2 separate regions of the Homo sapiens genome follow, and region 2 is linked to region 1. The links are contacts of gene promoters, found by promoter capture Hi-C in human tissues and cell types (Jung and others, 2019). All regions are on one chromosome and are shown on one strand. The core of a region is centred on a gene start or on the middle of the fragment in contact, and the rest is flanking DNA. Distances in the headings are between cores, read along the strand shown. Region 1 holds the start of RBM46 (RNA binding motif protein 46). Region 2 overlaps LOC124900169 (a long non-coding RNA gene).

Region 1 (7,120 bases), core at 2,041-4,540:
GGTCCATATATAGGCCATTAGCTACATGTGAAGAAGATCTCAGGTTCTGATTTGCTGCCTTGGGAAGTGAGGTTGTTAATCATAGGGGGTACACTGACAGGATGTAAATATGGCTCATCACCATAACTGGAAAAAAGCAATGTTAATGCGCCTCTCCCGCCACATATAGTCATCTTGGTGCTGATGCTCACCTTCCAGTATAATGAAAAGTTCAAATTCATCTGTCAGGCAGAATGCATTAAACCAGGATAAGAAAGTAAGGGTCAGTGAATTAGAATAAACATACTTACTACACACATAAAATAAAACAAAACCCCAAATCCACACTTCCAAAACAGGTTTGAGATGACATTTCAATTGAAGATTCACCACATTAAAGAGTTCCTTGTTCCTGAGCGATGTGCTGTAGATCATTAATTCTATAAACATGCAAGTAGCTGCCATGTTTTTGGTGGATCTGTGTCATATCACTGCCACAGTGATAAAGGAAGCTGAAGAAGCTCCAACACATGGAAAATAAACCAGATCACTGCACAGGCTCATTTATATGGAACAGAGGACTAAGTTGGATGTTAAACATTTTAAAGATTTCCCATTGCTTCTCTTTCCTTTGTCAGGGGGTGTATTTTGCAGAATGTATATGAAAATAACTTCTAAGTGATATAAAAGCTTGCATCTTAACTTCTAAGTGATATAAAAGCTTGCATTTTATATGGGGAAAATACATGTATTCAGACTATTTTTAACCACTTGAATTTTGCATCTCTTCCTTTTTTTTTTTTTTTTTTTTGAGACAGGGTTTCGCTCTGTCATCCAGGCTGGAGTGCTGTGGCACGGTCATAGCTCACTGCAGCCTCAAACTCCTGGGCTTAAGTGATCCTCTTGTCTCAGCCTAACTCAAAGTAGTTAGGACTACAGGTGTGTGCCACCACACCCGGCTCCTTCCAATTTTTTATTGATAACTTTTACTTCCCATGTCACACAGTCACTATTATTTCTCTTTCTGGTGTTTGCAGAGATCCCCTTCTATTTTCTCCCTTGTATGCCAAGTATCTTTCGACACTTCTTTTTAGTCACAAACACCTTTACATTGCTTATCATCTTCCTTCTTACTCATTTGGGTCACCTTTTCCCATAAGCTCAAATAATCTTAAAACAAATCCAATTTGGAATCTGTTACTGAAGAATTCTAGCTGATAAAAGTGTTTTGGATCTCTTTCTCTGGGAGCCTTGAGAAATAAAGTTAAAGGTCATTTCTTTAATTGTACATGCAGACAATAGTTTTTATAGCATTTGAAAAGTATACCTATTAATAAACTTTAGGATAATAAAAACTTAGACAAAATCTAACCAAAATGACATACAATGTTAAGTATGGGAAGGGTCTTTAAACAACACTGTCTCATCTATGGCAAGGTTCTATGGTCTGACTGTAATGCCTATTGAGAAGCCCTTGTCTATTTGGTTTTCTTTATACTTGGGGAGAAAAAAGACAAAAAGGGAAACAAGAAAACCAGCAATGTTCAACAACCTTCCAGGCTATTTCCAAGAACAATCTTTGTACCTCACAACATCTCCACCTAGTGACTCCTTAAGGATCTTACAGCCATTCCTAGAAATTACTTGTTTTAAATTGCCACTAATATGCCTAACCTCATTTCAGATAATTTAACCTTAAACACATGTATTTAGAATTAATTACTAGGAATTGAGAAGGTACCGACATGAAAATGAAGAATGAGGAGAATCTTTTTCTGGAGAAATAAAAGAGCAGCAAAAAATAGTAATCAATATAACAATCACAGTTCCCGAGGTACAGAATTGGTGACATGTCAAACAAAGCCAACTAGATCTATCAGTCTAGGTTTTCTAGTTGCTTTATTTTGAATGCATACATCTTATATAAAATGACACTTGTATTCATTGACTAAAGGGCAGACGGCTTACAAAAAATATTTGTTGAGCTTCCAGTGTGCATCAAGTACTATGCCAAGTTTTCTACTTGTTTCTGGACGTATTTTGAGACAGTATAGTATAGCAATTATGTCTGTAGGTTTCAAACTGGAGCCACTTACTTGCTATATGACTTTGCCCAAACTACTTAAGGTTTCTGCATCTGTTTCCCCGTCTGCAAAGTAGGGCTAGTAACTTTACCAAAGTTACTGTGAGAATTAAATGAAAATATGAAAAGTCCTTAGGATTGTTTCTGGCATCTGGCTCAATATTTGGTAATATCATATATTATTTTATTCTCACAATCCCCACTTTAAACAGGGTCTGTCTGGCTCCAAAGTCCCTGCTAATTCCTCACTGTTGTAGTATATTTAAAAATTAAAAATATACTTTAACAAAATTTAAATTGGTAGACATTCATTAGTTCCTTGAATATATGGAGAAAATACATTAGGAGTTAATGTGGAAGAAATCACCTTGAGGTTGGGAATAAGGAGATCTGTGTTACTCGGTGAATATTCTGGGCATGAAGTTCCTTGTTAATTAGAGAATCAACATGAGCTAGGTTCTTTATTGTCTAATATTCCATGAATCTAATATTATCTATACATAAATAGTTGGTTCCTAAAGGTGGTTTTTTCTTTCCTTGTCTGCATTTAATTTCGAGCTGTCTTCAAAGGAAGCAAAACTGAAGTTATGCATACCGAATGCCAAACAACCCTATCTGTGAAAGTTGGTTTTACAAGAGCATAGAACCCAGTTCGGCAGTTCGCCTCTGCCAAATGTCCCTGCAAGCTGATTAGTGGTAGCGTCAAGCCTATCGCTAGTTCTCCTCATCTAACCCATTTTCTTAGTCATTGTCATTTAAACCACTTATACTTTATACTTCTAGTCCTATTTGCAAATCCATCTTTTAGCTTTATAACCCACCTCCCCCTAGCCCTTAATTTCAAAGGTCCACCGGATATATGTGGTTGTTTTGCGCCAAACTAGCAGTTTACAAGAAAACTACATCAAACAAGAAAAAGAACCATTACGATGCATCTATGTTTTCCCTTAAGTGCGGAATTTCACACTGCAGCCCTCGTCTTCAAACACCTAAACAATGCACCTAGGACCTTCATTTATTATTCCGTGCCCACCCACACCCTAAAAATCGCTCTCTTCACCCCAATTGCTCGAAATGCCTGTCACTCCAAGCACTTTGACTAGCCCAAGAGCCTCATTTAAACTTTAGCCCCACTCTCTCCTCCTCGCCCCGCCCCGAAGCTAATCCCTGATTGGATGAGGCACCACTCCTCGTGGGGCTGCTTAGGCCACCGCGCGCGCTGCGCGCTGGGAAACGAGTGGAGACACGAGGACCAGCGCGAGCGGTCCCGGTGGGCTACCCTCCCCCTGCGACGACCCCCCCTCGCTCTGACCGACTGGTCCCCTAAACGGTGGCGGCGGTTTTTGGTCGTTGGGCCCCGGGATTTAGGACCAACATTTGAAGACCCGAAGGGGTGAGGAGGGGAAAGGGGAAACGGGGTCACTACCAGACCACTGCTAACGGCTGGATAGTGCCCGGCTCACTCTCACGCCGAATACACAGTGGGGGCTGGCGGCGGTGGCTGCGGGGTTCACCCTCGTCCTTCCCCAGCCCCGTCGAGCAGTGGGAGGGCAAGTGTCCGAGACGCTGCTTCCTGCCCCGGCAGCATCCGGCCAGAAGGCGCCCTCGCCGTCACCCAGGCGCTGCATGGTGAGGGCCCAGCGGCCAGTCTCTTTGGGGCGTCTGGCGGCCTCTTCCGCCCCGCGGCGCCCTGCGCTCTCCGCCTTATTTCCGCTCTCCCCCGCTGCCTTCCGGCCGCTTCCCACCTGTGCTGCATTTCGTGTTATTTTCCTGACACGCTTACGCCGACGACCAACGACCGCTGCAGGCCCGGGCCGCTGCCTGGCCGTTGTAGGGTCCGCGCGTCCCCTGGAGGCTTTGGACGCCGTCTGGGGCGTCCCGACGGCTGGGTGAGATTCAGCAGTCTGGTTTCAGAATTGAATTCAGGCTGGGTGAGCTTTAGCGGGCTCCTAGTCGTTTGCGTGGAGTTCTAGCCGGGACTGAGCCTCGAACTTTACTTTGCCTTTGTCTCCCTGTTTCTTCCCCGAGTACCTCGTGTGTGCTGGGCTGTGGGCAGTGGGAGGCCGCGGGTGCACAGGGAAGATAGCTCGCCTCTCCCCCGACACACGGACGGCAGCACACGTCGTGGCACCGCCTTTGTTTCCTAACATCTGGTAGTTTTTAAACCCCTAATTTAAAAATGTTTCTTTGGAGCTGCTGGAAAAACCACAGAACCAGCGGCATTTAATCCTGGCGTTGATATTCTGAGATATTGCGAAGCTGCTTGATTTATTTGGGCACCAGTTTTCTCCTATGTAAATTTAGCTTAGGTAATATTTAAGTTCTTTAAGCTTTAACTGTCTTTACATTCTTGATAAATTCCCCGTAACCTTTATGTTATGTGGTAATCCTAATATAGGCAAATATCAAAGAGGAAATATCATAAGGAGTTTTTTTGTTTTGTTTTTTGTTTTGTTTTGAGACGGAGTCTCGCTCTGTCTCCCAGGCGGGAGAGCAGTGGCAGGATCTCGGCTGACTGCAACTTCCGCCTACCGGGTTCAAGCGATTCTCCTGCCTCAAACTCTCGGGAGTAGCTGGGACTACAGGCGCGCGCCACCACGCACAGCTGATTTTTGTATTAGTAGAGACAGGGTTTCACCATGTTGGCCAGGATGGTCTCGATCTCTGGACCTCATGATCCACCCGCTTCGGCCTCCCCAAGTGCTGGGATTACAGGCGTGAGCCATCGCCGCCGAGCTTTTTAAGTCTTGGCTTCTCTTAAAAATTGGCCTGATTTTGTGTTTGAGAATGGCGTTATAACCAGGAAGCAGGATATGTTGCGTGTATAAGGAGAATAACATATAAAGGACATGTTCAAGGGTCTGTAGAATTTTGCTTATTTAAATAATGGGAAGATATTTTCGTTTCAAGAATCACCACGATGTATATACAGTTTGACAGACTTCCATTTGGATCTTTTCAGAATTGAATCTCCTTATGGGGGTCTAATAATAGACTTGTTTTCAGGGCACACGTTTAAAACATTCTACTTTAAACTTTGTTTGCATCTGTCTGCATTTGTTTGCATTGTTAATAAAATTTGTTTGCATCTTTATAGACATAAAGATGACAGTGCTGCCTGCAATCACTAAATATTAATGCTTTCTGCTTAAGGCACTGCTTTGATTGCTGATTTTCACTTAAGAGGTTGGAGTAATGTACTTGAATATTATTGCCAAATATAATACATATCAACACTTAAAATATATGCATTACTGGATATATTATGAAACAAGAATTATTAATAACGAGAACAAACCCAGTTTATGGACTGAAATTAAGTCTCAGGTTTAATGGTGTTATTTTATTGTTAGGAGAAGGAAGACATGTCAGTTTAAGTAGAGTTTGTGACTACAAATCAAGTAATTGCTGTAAAAATTGTCCAGATTTGCATATTAATGCCGAATGTTATTTCTCATTTTACTACCCGATGATTGATGAGGCAAGAAAATGTGATCTCTATGTTCAAATTGGTAACAGATTTAAAATAACAGATTATGAAGGACCTTGTGTAAGGAATGGTGTACTTAATTTGGACAAGAATATGTAGATATCTTTATCCTGAATTCAAACAGCATATACACCTTTGTGTTCAAAGCAGTATTTTTTAAAAGTATTAGTTACAGTTTTTTTAAATAGTTCAATTTTTAAGTCATTCAGAATTTAAACTTAATATTAAAACTTTTATCCATTATATATTTAACTTCTAGCAATAAAATGTGCTCTCATTCTTTAATAAAAACAACTTAAAATGGAATTGAACTGATCCATCTGTACACTTATTTCGAAATAATTTTAGACTTCCATGTCCACACACTTTTGATTAACTCTTCTCGTTTTCCAAGAACGAGAAGTGTAGTGGCTGTAGTGCAGTCTGTCACTAAAATGAATTGCTGCTTAAAAACAAACAGAAAACCTCCATTGACCTGGCAACCATTGACCTGGCAACCATGGTTTCCATGTACCATACTCAATGACAACAGTGCTAACAAATCAGGAGTTTAGTACCATGTAATTCAAGAAATGTCATAAACATTTAATGTGCCCCTATAAAGGCACGCTTTGATATTCTTAATTTTTTTCATTATTACATTGAGTTTTTAAAACCCACAGTAAGATTATATAATGTTCTCTTTCACAGCTTTCTAAATTTTTACAGTAACTTGGAAGATGAAGTTTCAGTTGAAGTAGTTTTAATACAGCTGACACAGTTCCTTTAAATAATTTTCATTAATGTTTTGCTTAAATTGTGCTTGTCTTTTTTCATTAATATACTTTCTATTTTTGAATGGCAGTACAAATTTGAAAATACATATTTTTGATAATTGTTAAGAAGGTTAAAATTAAAGGAGATATAGTTAGCACTTAAAGATAAAGGCTTGATTCACATTGTTACTTGAATAGCTTGTGATTTGCTATCCTGTCTTGGCCTTTTGCTTCATACCTTAGAGAGGTTTTTTCCTTCTATTTTTTCTTTTGAAAGTGAGCTAGAGAGGAATCTTTGAAAGTCTACAGTTTAGGGAAAAAAATACATATCTGAAAGCTAGAGTTAAATATGGCACAACTTTTAATTTCTCATTCCCACTTTGTCTGCAAAACCATTTTTGACATTCTACTCAGGATCCCTCCTTCTCTTACTTGGATTACTTGGGTCAGCAGGGTAAGGAAATAAGTTTTTAGAACGCTTTGTAGTGTGACTTCACACCTGAAAGTGGCAGAGGACAAATTAAGTCTGGAAGCCTCAATTGGTATGTCAGTTTTGCTTTAATGTATAGGACAGATGTGCTTTCTTGGATATTTAGGTAACAGGTTGATTCTGGAGTATTTTAGAATGAATGTATTGTATGCTTGTTTTAGATTTGATTATATTTCTCTGGCTATTCTTGAATTTTGCCTCTTTTAGAAATAAACTTTTGTTAAATTAATATGTTAAAGTTAGGTAATTTTGAACTTTCTTGTGAATTATACACGTGCATATATTTTGTTTTGGAGGCTTTGAGATAAGGGTTTTTTTTTCTA
Region 2 (6,897 bases), core at 2,009-4,508, 47 kb before region 1:
AAACACCAGCGTGATAGACTGAATACCAGCATTAACAATGTGGTCATTGGAATGTGGAAGGGAGTAGGTAATTTTTAACAAATGTAGACCAACTATCTCACCAAATATATAACATACGAGACAAGAAGACTGGTATATATATACATATATATGTATATGTATATATATCTTCTTGTCTCATATATATATGATATATATATGTCTTCTTGTCCCATATATGTATATACACATATATATATACACATATATATACATATATACATATATATACACACACACACATATATATATCTCCTATAGGCATTCGATGAAGATGTTCTTTTTTCTGTAAAGCATATACTTAAAAACTTTGATAAACTGTGATTTGTTTAATATATTCACGTTTAGAGTATCTTTCTCTGATGCCCAAATCCAAGCTGTACTATTCTTGTCCTCATTTAAGAGTATCTTACTCTTCTTTTTAAATGTGCAGACATCTTATTATTTACTACAAGCAATTTGCATGTATAAGATTACATTACAAATACATTATTATAAGCTTACATTACATTGTATACATTATACATATAATGTATAAATATTTTTTGTATAAGAAGCAATCTAACAATTACTTACACAATTTTAATGCTTTCATAAGATTCTTGTACTAAATTTGGAGAAATGGAGAAATCTGAATATTTTATCTATCTCAGTCAGAGTTTAAAAAATGAATGGTACAGTGACCTAATACTTTGAGCTCAAATTAAATTCAAGGTTTGCTATAAAATTTTTTGCATTTTAGCCCAGAGGACATTTAACCACTTTCAATTAACTACACATATTTTCTCTTCTATAGTACATACTATGATAATGATATTACAGTGATTTTATGCAATAAAAATGTGATTACAAATTTTAACAAATTACTCTGAGCCTAAATTTTCCTAGTGTCTATCATTAATATGATTCTCTCACCAGCATCCTGCCACATGCCTAGTTTGATACTGAAGATTGACAGCACTAAGGGAGAACTTACTGTTATAACAAACTAGGAGAAAGAAAGATCAAGCTTTTGGGAACATGTATGTAAAATTTTCTACAATTATTAATGCTCTAAATAGGAATAGAATTAAAACTTGTTTTTCATGAAGATTTGTAATATAAGCAAATGACCTACTACTGTCACTCTGTCAATTTATTACACATCAATAACTTCCATAAATTTCCTGGTTACATCAAGCTTTGAGTCATCTACATGGGCTGGTAGATGACCTCACCAACTGGTTGGGTTTAGGATTTTACTTCTTCAGAATCTACTTTACAAACTAAAGTGGGTAGGAACAAACCCTTTTTGACTTCACTTCCAAATGTTTCTGGAGCTACACTTCTTAATCTCCTTCCTCCTTTCCTGTCTCAGAGGAACAGAAGTCCTTCCTCCTCATCAGTTCTAACTTCCATCTGCAGTTTTGATCCCATGGCTTCCCACCTCCTCTGGACTGATTTCCATCATTTATTTATTTATTTATTTAGCTGTGTTTTTCTTCTCCATTGAGTCTCCTTTTATGTACAAATATCCTCCTGTGTTCTCCATTTAAAACAAATTTAAAAATTAAAAGTAGGCCAGGTGCAGTGGCTCACACCTGTAACACCTCCCAGCACTTTGGGAGGCCAAAGGCAGGAAAATTGCTTGAGCTTAGGCATTTGTGACCAGCTGGGGAAACATAGTAAGATCCTGTCTCTACAAAAGAAAAAAAAAATACCTGGTTATGCATGCTTGTAGTCCCAGCTACTTGGAAGACTGAAGTGGGAGGATCACCTGAGCCTGGGAAGTCGAGGCTGCAGTGAGTCGAGATTGTGCCACTGCACTCCAGCCTGGGTAACACAGAGAGACCCCATCTCAAAAAAATAGCAATAAAAAAAACCATAAAAAATGTAAAAAGTGAAAATTGAAAAAGCAAATAACAATAAAAAATATTTTCCATTTTATCCTCTATTTCTCATTTTCTTTACTGCAAAACCTTTAGAAAAGCTTGTCTGTTCTTTGCCTAGCCCTTCCCTTGGCCTAACTCTCACTCCCTCAACCCTCAGCAGTCAGGTACTCATGAAACTATTTTCACACTAGTGCCTTCCTTATTGCCTAATCAAATGGTCTCTTGACGCTCTTGCTAACTCCTCTTTGTTTGACACGACTGAACATGCCTCTCCTAATAAGACTTTGTTCGGCCTGGCCATCTCCTACCTCTCATTCCTTCCCCAGCATCTTGGCTGACTCCTTAGTGCTGCCTTCCCTTTATGCAGGGCTCTATCCTGGCTGCCTTCTCACCACGTTCTATGTGTTATCCCTGGGCAGTTTTGTCTACTCCAAAGTAGTAGCACCCACACACTTCTGACTCCCAAATCTGTATCCTATGGCCATACTTCTCTCCAGAGATCTTGTTTAATCTATGTATCCACCTACTTAACATCCCAACTTGAAAAGCCATAGACTCCTGAAACTCAACATGTCCGAGAGTGAACTCATTTGTTCCTCCTGTAAAACCTGCTTTTTCTCCTACCTTCCCCATTCCTATGAAGGGTTTCACTCTTTGCCCAGAGTCATCCCTGGTTCCATTTTATTCTTCTTCCCACTTCTGCCACCACCACTACATCCAGTTGGTCACCAAAAATATCTTTAACTTTTTTACGTGCTCCTCCATCTTGTTTTCCATTACCTTAATCTGGCCCCTTTTCATCTTTTCCCTGGACTACTAAGTGACCTTTTAATTGGTCTCTGCTCCACAGTTGCTTTGGATCACATCATTCCCCTTCTTGAATGTCCCTCATGGCTATTGATTACCTACAGAATAAAGTCTGAGCTCCCCACATGGCACAGGAGGCCCTTCACAACCCGGGCCCCACAAGCTCCCAGTGTGGATTTGACCTCTACCCGTAGAGAGGTATAAGTCCTATATTCTAGTTGAGCTGGACTATTTAAATCTCATCTTTGTTCATGCTGCTTCCTTTGCCTGCCCTCTTGGTACCCACATGCCTACCCCTGTAGATCTAACAAACTCTGACTCCTCATGGTACTGCTTAGGAGCTACTCATTCTCTCACATTCCCTACCCCAAGTAGATGAATTTCTCACCTTTAGTGCATGATCCTTTTCCAACACATCACACAGAATTATGAAAGTTTATTGAGGTCTGTTTCCTCCTTACCAGGCTCTGTGTTCTATTAGGGAGGGGACTGCATTTCATTCATTGCTGTGTTTTGGAATGTCCACATGGAACTTGAGACTAAATGTTCAATAAATACCTGTTGAAGTGGATTCAAGCCTAGAATTCTCCCATCCCCATTTACAGAATTTCCTACTGCCCTACGGCTCTTTGTCACCTTTTCCAAATTTACATGAGAGTTATAGGCAATGAAGAGATTGCTTTATGTATTCTAGAAGAAAAATATACATAGCCATCATTTCTTGAGTTCTTACTAAGTGCTGCTTTTGTAATACATACATATTAATTCATTTAATCCTTATAACAACCTTATGAGGTAGGCTTCATCTTTATCATCATCCTCACCTTAGAGAGGAGGTAACTGAGACAGAGTAGTTAAGTAACTTGCCAAAGGTCACAAAGCTAGGAAGTAGAAGAGCCAGGATTTGAATCCAGGCAAGTTAGCTACAGAGTAGACATTCTTAACCATCATCCCACACTTTTTCCATTTGTAGTGTGCTGTCCCAGCCTACCCTTTTGTCTTCCTTATTTGGTAGCAACAACACATGTGTTTTCAGGAACAGATAAATTTATGTCAGTACGTTTAAATCTATTTGGCTATGTAAATATGGGAATGTTTTATTGATATAATTTTTATACATAATTTGTAATTTTAAAATAGTTAAATAAAATATGTATTGCTTTTGACTTTCTCAAAGAAGTGTAGAAGTTTTGAGTCAAAAGGGACTTTGAATTGGAGAGATGACTACTTACCCAAGGTAATAAATGTAAATTTTAAATAGGAATAATTATGGAATATAAGCCAAGAGAGTTAAAATTCTTAACTAATCCAAATAAGTGTAACTTACAATATAACTGTTAGATAAAATTGTAAGCAAAAACTTTATTGAATGCCCACTGTGAACTCAGAACACATTCTTATGAATATGTTGCCTTACTCAAGGAAGATCCATTTCTAGATAATATTGCTAAAATGAGTTATATAAAGTCACATTTTTGGTAAAGCACATAATTAAAATAGCTTCTTGACAATTAATCTTTCTTTTGTAATATCAGTAATTACTCTTTATTCTTCTTGAATTTGGTTTTCTGAAAAAAGAATAAACCTCTGCTAGACATTTTACATTGGAGGATTCATAAACGAGTAGAGAGAAATCTTCAAGATTTCTATAATTTCACCTATAAAGCAAAATACTTGGTTAAATTATAATTAAGCACCACGTACTTTTTTTAAAAAAGATGAAAAATAGAAGAATTGTTATTTGGAAACCAAATGGTGCAGCCCTAAAAGACATACAAGAAAATCCAGTCCCTTTCAAAAGAAATAAAAACAAATGTAAGAGGAGACATAATTTAAGGAAACAGAAAGAGAGTTTGGACTTTGTCATCTTATACTGGACTTGGCAGTGAGATGTGAGAATGACCATCTACAGCTATCACTAGATTGAATTCCAGGAAGGTTCAGAAGCTGAATTGACGATGAGAGTCACCAGCAGGGGAGTAATGGATAGTATCTATTGCTTTTTCTGTGATGAGTGGACCAGGGCACAAAGAGTTCAACTGATTTGCTTAGAATCATGAAGTAGGTTGTGCCAATATTCTGGGTGACACAGGACTAAAAGGAGGAAATCTAATAACAATCTAGAGGATTTCTAAGTCTGGCTAAACCTTTGGACCTGGTTCCAGGGCCATCCTCTACAGACCCCTCTATAGGTAAGGACCTGCTGAGTGTGGCCTGGCACCCTGAGGTTCACAGCATTATTGGTTTGGTTACTTGCTCTTCTGCAGGAGGCAGGTCACAGTTGGATAAAACTCATGATCTAAGAGACCCCAGGTCACTCTCCCTGCTGATTGTGACCCTGATTTCCTAGGTTCTAAGGTATTCAGGGATGATTTTTGAGATGCCATTTGGCCTCTGACAATTAGACCCATCATAATAATATCTGATATGGTTTGGCTGTGTCCCCACCCAAATCTAATCTTGAATTCCCAAGTGTTGTGGGAGGGACACAGTGGGAGGTAATTGAATCATGGGGGCAAGTCGTTCCCATGTTGTTCTTGTGATAGTGAATAAGTCTCACGAGATCTGATGGTTTTAAAAACAGGAGTTCTGCTGCACAAGTTCTCTGTCTTTGCCTGCTGTCATTCATGTAAGACATGACTTGCTCCTCCTTGCCTTCCACCATGATTGTGAGGCTTCCCCAGATATGTGGAACTGTAAGTCCAATTAAATCTCTTCCTTTGTAAATTGCCTAGTCTTGGGTATGTCTTTATCAAACATGCGAAAACGGACTAATACAATGTCCTTAGAGGATATCACAGAAAAAAACTAGAGCCCTCCCTTCCGGATTCCAACACCCTAGAATTAAATGAGATAAAAGAATGACAGATGCAAAAGAACAAGTGTAATGTATGTTACAACATGAAATAATTATGACCAAAGGGCAAATATTCTAGATTATTCTTTTTGAAAGTTAAACTAGGTGAACTTTAAAAATGCCTGTGATTTCTGGTTTAAACTGCTATGTAGATTAAAAACTTTATAGGTTTTTAATTTATCTTTAAAGAAAAAGGTTGGGTTGGCACTGTGGCTCACGCCTGTAATCCCAGCACTTTTGGAGGCCGAGGCAGGCGGATCACAAGGTCAAGAGATTGAGGCCATCCTGGCCAACATGGTGAAACCCTGTCTCTACTAAAAATACGAAAATTAGCTGGGCATGGTGGCGTATGCCTGTAGTCCCAGCTACACGGGAAGCTGAGGCAGGAGAATTGCTTGAACCCAGAAGGCAGATGTTGCAGTGAGCCGAGATCATGCCACTGCCCTCCAGCCTGGTGGCAGAGTGAGACTCCATCAAAAAAAAAAAAGAAAGAAAGAAAAGGTTACTGAATTTTAAAAAATTAATCCTATGTGATCCAATTTCAGTTCCACTCACATTCTTTATGAGTAAAGTCTGGATGTTAATAAAATGAAAGTAATTCTACGTAATCTGACTTAAAGGCAAGTCACTGTAGAGGGAAACCAGGATAAAAATAAGTGTACTTAAGTCAAGTGTGTAGTTTGTACCTACAGAGGCAAACACAGGCAGCTTGGTTCTTAAGAGAGCTGCCCACTTGGAGTTCTCCCAATTAAGAAGTTGGAGACAAAAATCCATTTTTTTTTCTATAGTTGTATGAGACTTTTAGGTATGAATCAGCTTCAGTTGAACTACATTGAATTTTTAGCATGGTGTGAGATAAGAGTATATTTATAACACTGTAGGATGACTATAGTTAATAATATTATGTAGTTTCAAATAGCTAGAAGGAGGATGTTGAGTGTTCTCAACACAAATAAATGATAAATGTTTGAGATGATGGATATGCTAATTACCCTGATCTGATCACTATGCATGATATGTATCAAAACATCACTATGTACCCCATGATACTGTACAATTGTTACTTTGAACTAAAAAATTTTTAAACATTTGAAAAAGTAAATGTAACTACAAAAGACCAGAATGGTACACTGACCTTTCAGATTAACTTTAGATATTAGACATTGTATTTTCAAAAAACATATCAACAATAAGTATTGCTACAAATCATTGATGAGATAGTGTGCCTATGTCACTTAAAATTTCTCTGCAATTGAAGATACATTATTAAAGGAGCCATTGATTTTCAACACCAATTGCTGCCAAACTCCTGCTCAATCTCTT

The links. The method cuts DNA at HindIII sites, captures the fragments that hold promoters and counts their contacts. A contact is called where the count stands out against the background at its distance.
Region 2: a fragment that was not itself captured here is called in contact with the fragment with the promoter of RBM46 in region 1 in 3 of the 25 tissues and cell types used here (heart left ventricle, ovary and thymus).

Annotation. Positions count from the first base shown.
Region 1 is chr4:154,777,982-154,785,101 of GRCh38, forward strand. RBM46 (RNA binding motif protein 46) reads left to right here and starts at 3,291. Exons shown (of 5, transcript NM_144979.5): 1 at 3,291-3,455. LOC105377500 (a long non-coding RNA gene) reads right to left here and starts at 3,892. Exons shown (of 4, transcript NR_188451.1): 1 at 3,808-3,892. The HindIII fragment of the contact is 6,453 bases long and covers 1-5,784 here.
Region 2 is chr4:154,730,726-154,737,622 of GRCh38, forward strand. It overlaps LOC124900169 (a long non-coding RNA gene), which reads left to right. Exons shown (of 6, transcript XR_007058343.1): 5 at 958-1,061; 6 at 5,302-5,410. Among named protein-coding and RNA genes, the nearest start is that of LRAT, 9.8 kb to the right of the region's middle. The HindIII fragment of the contact is 4,930 bases long and covers 794-5,723 here.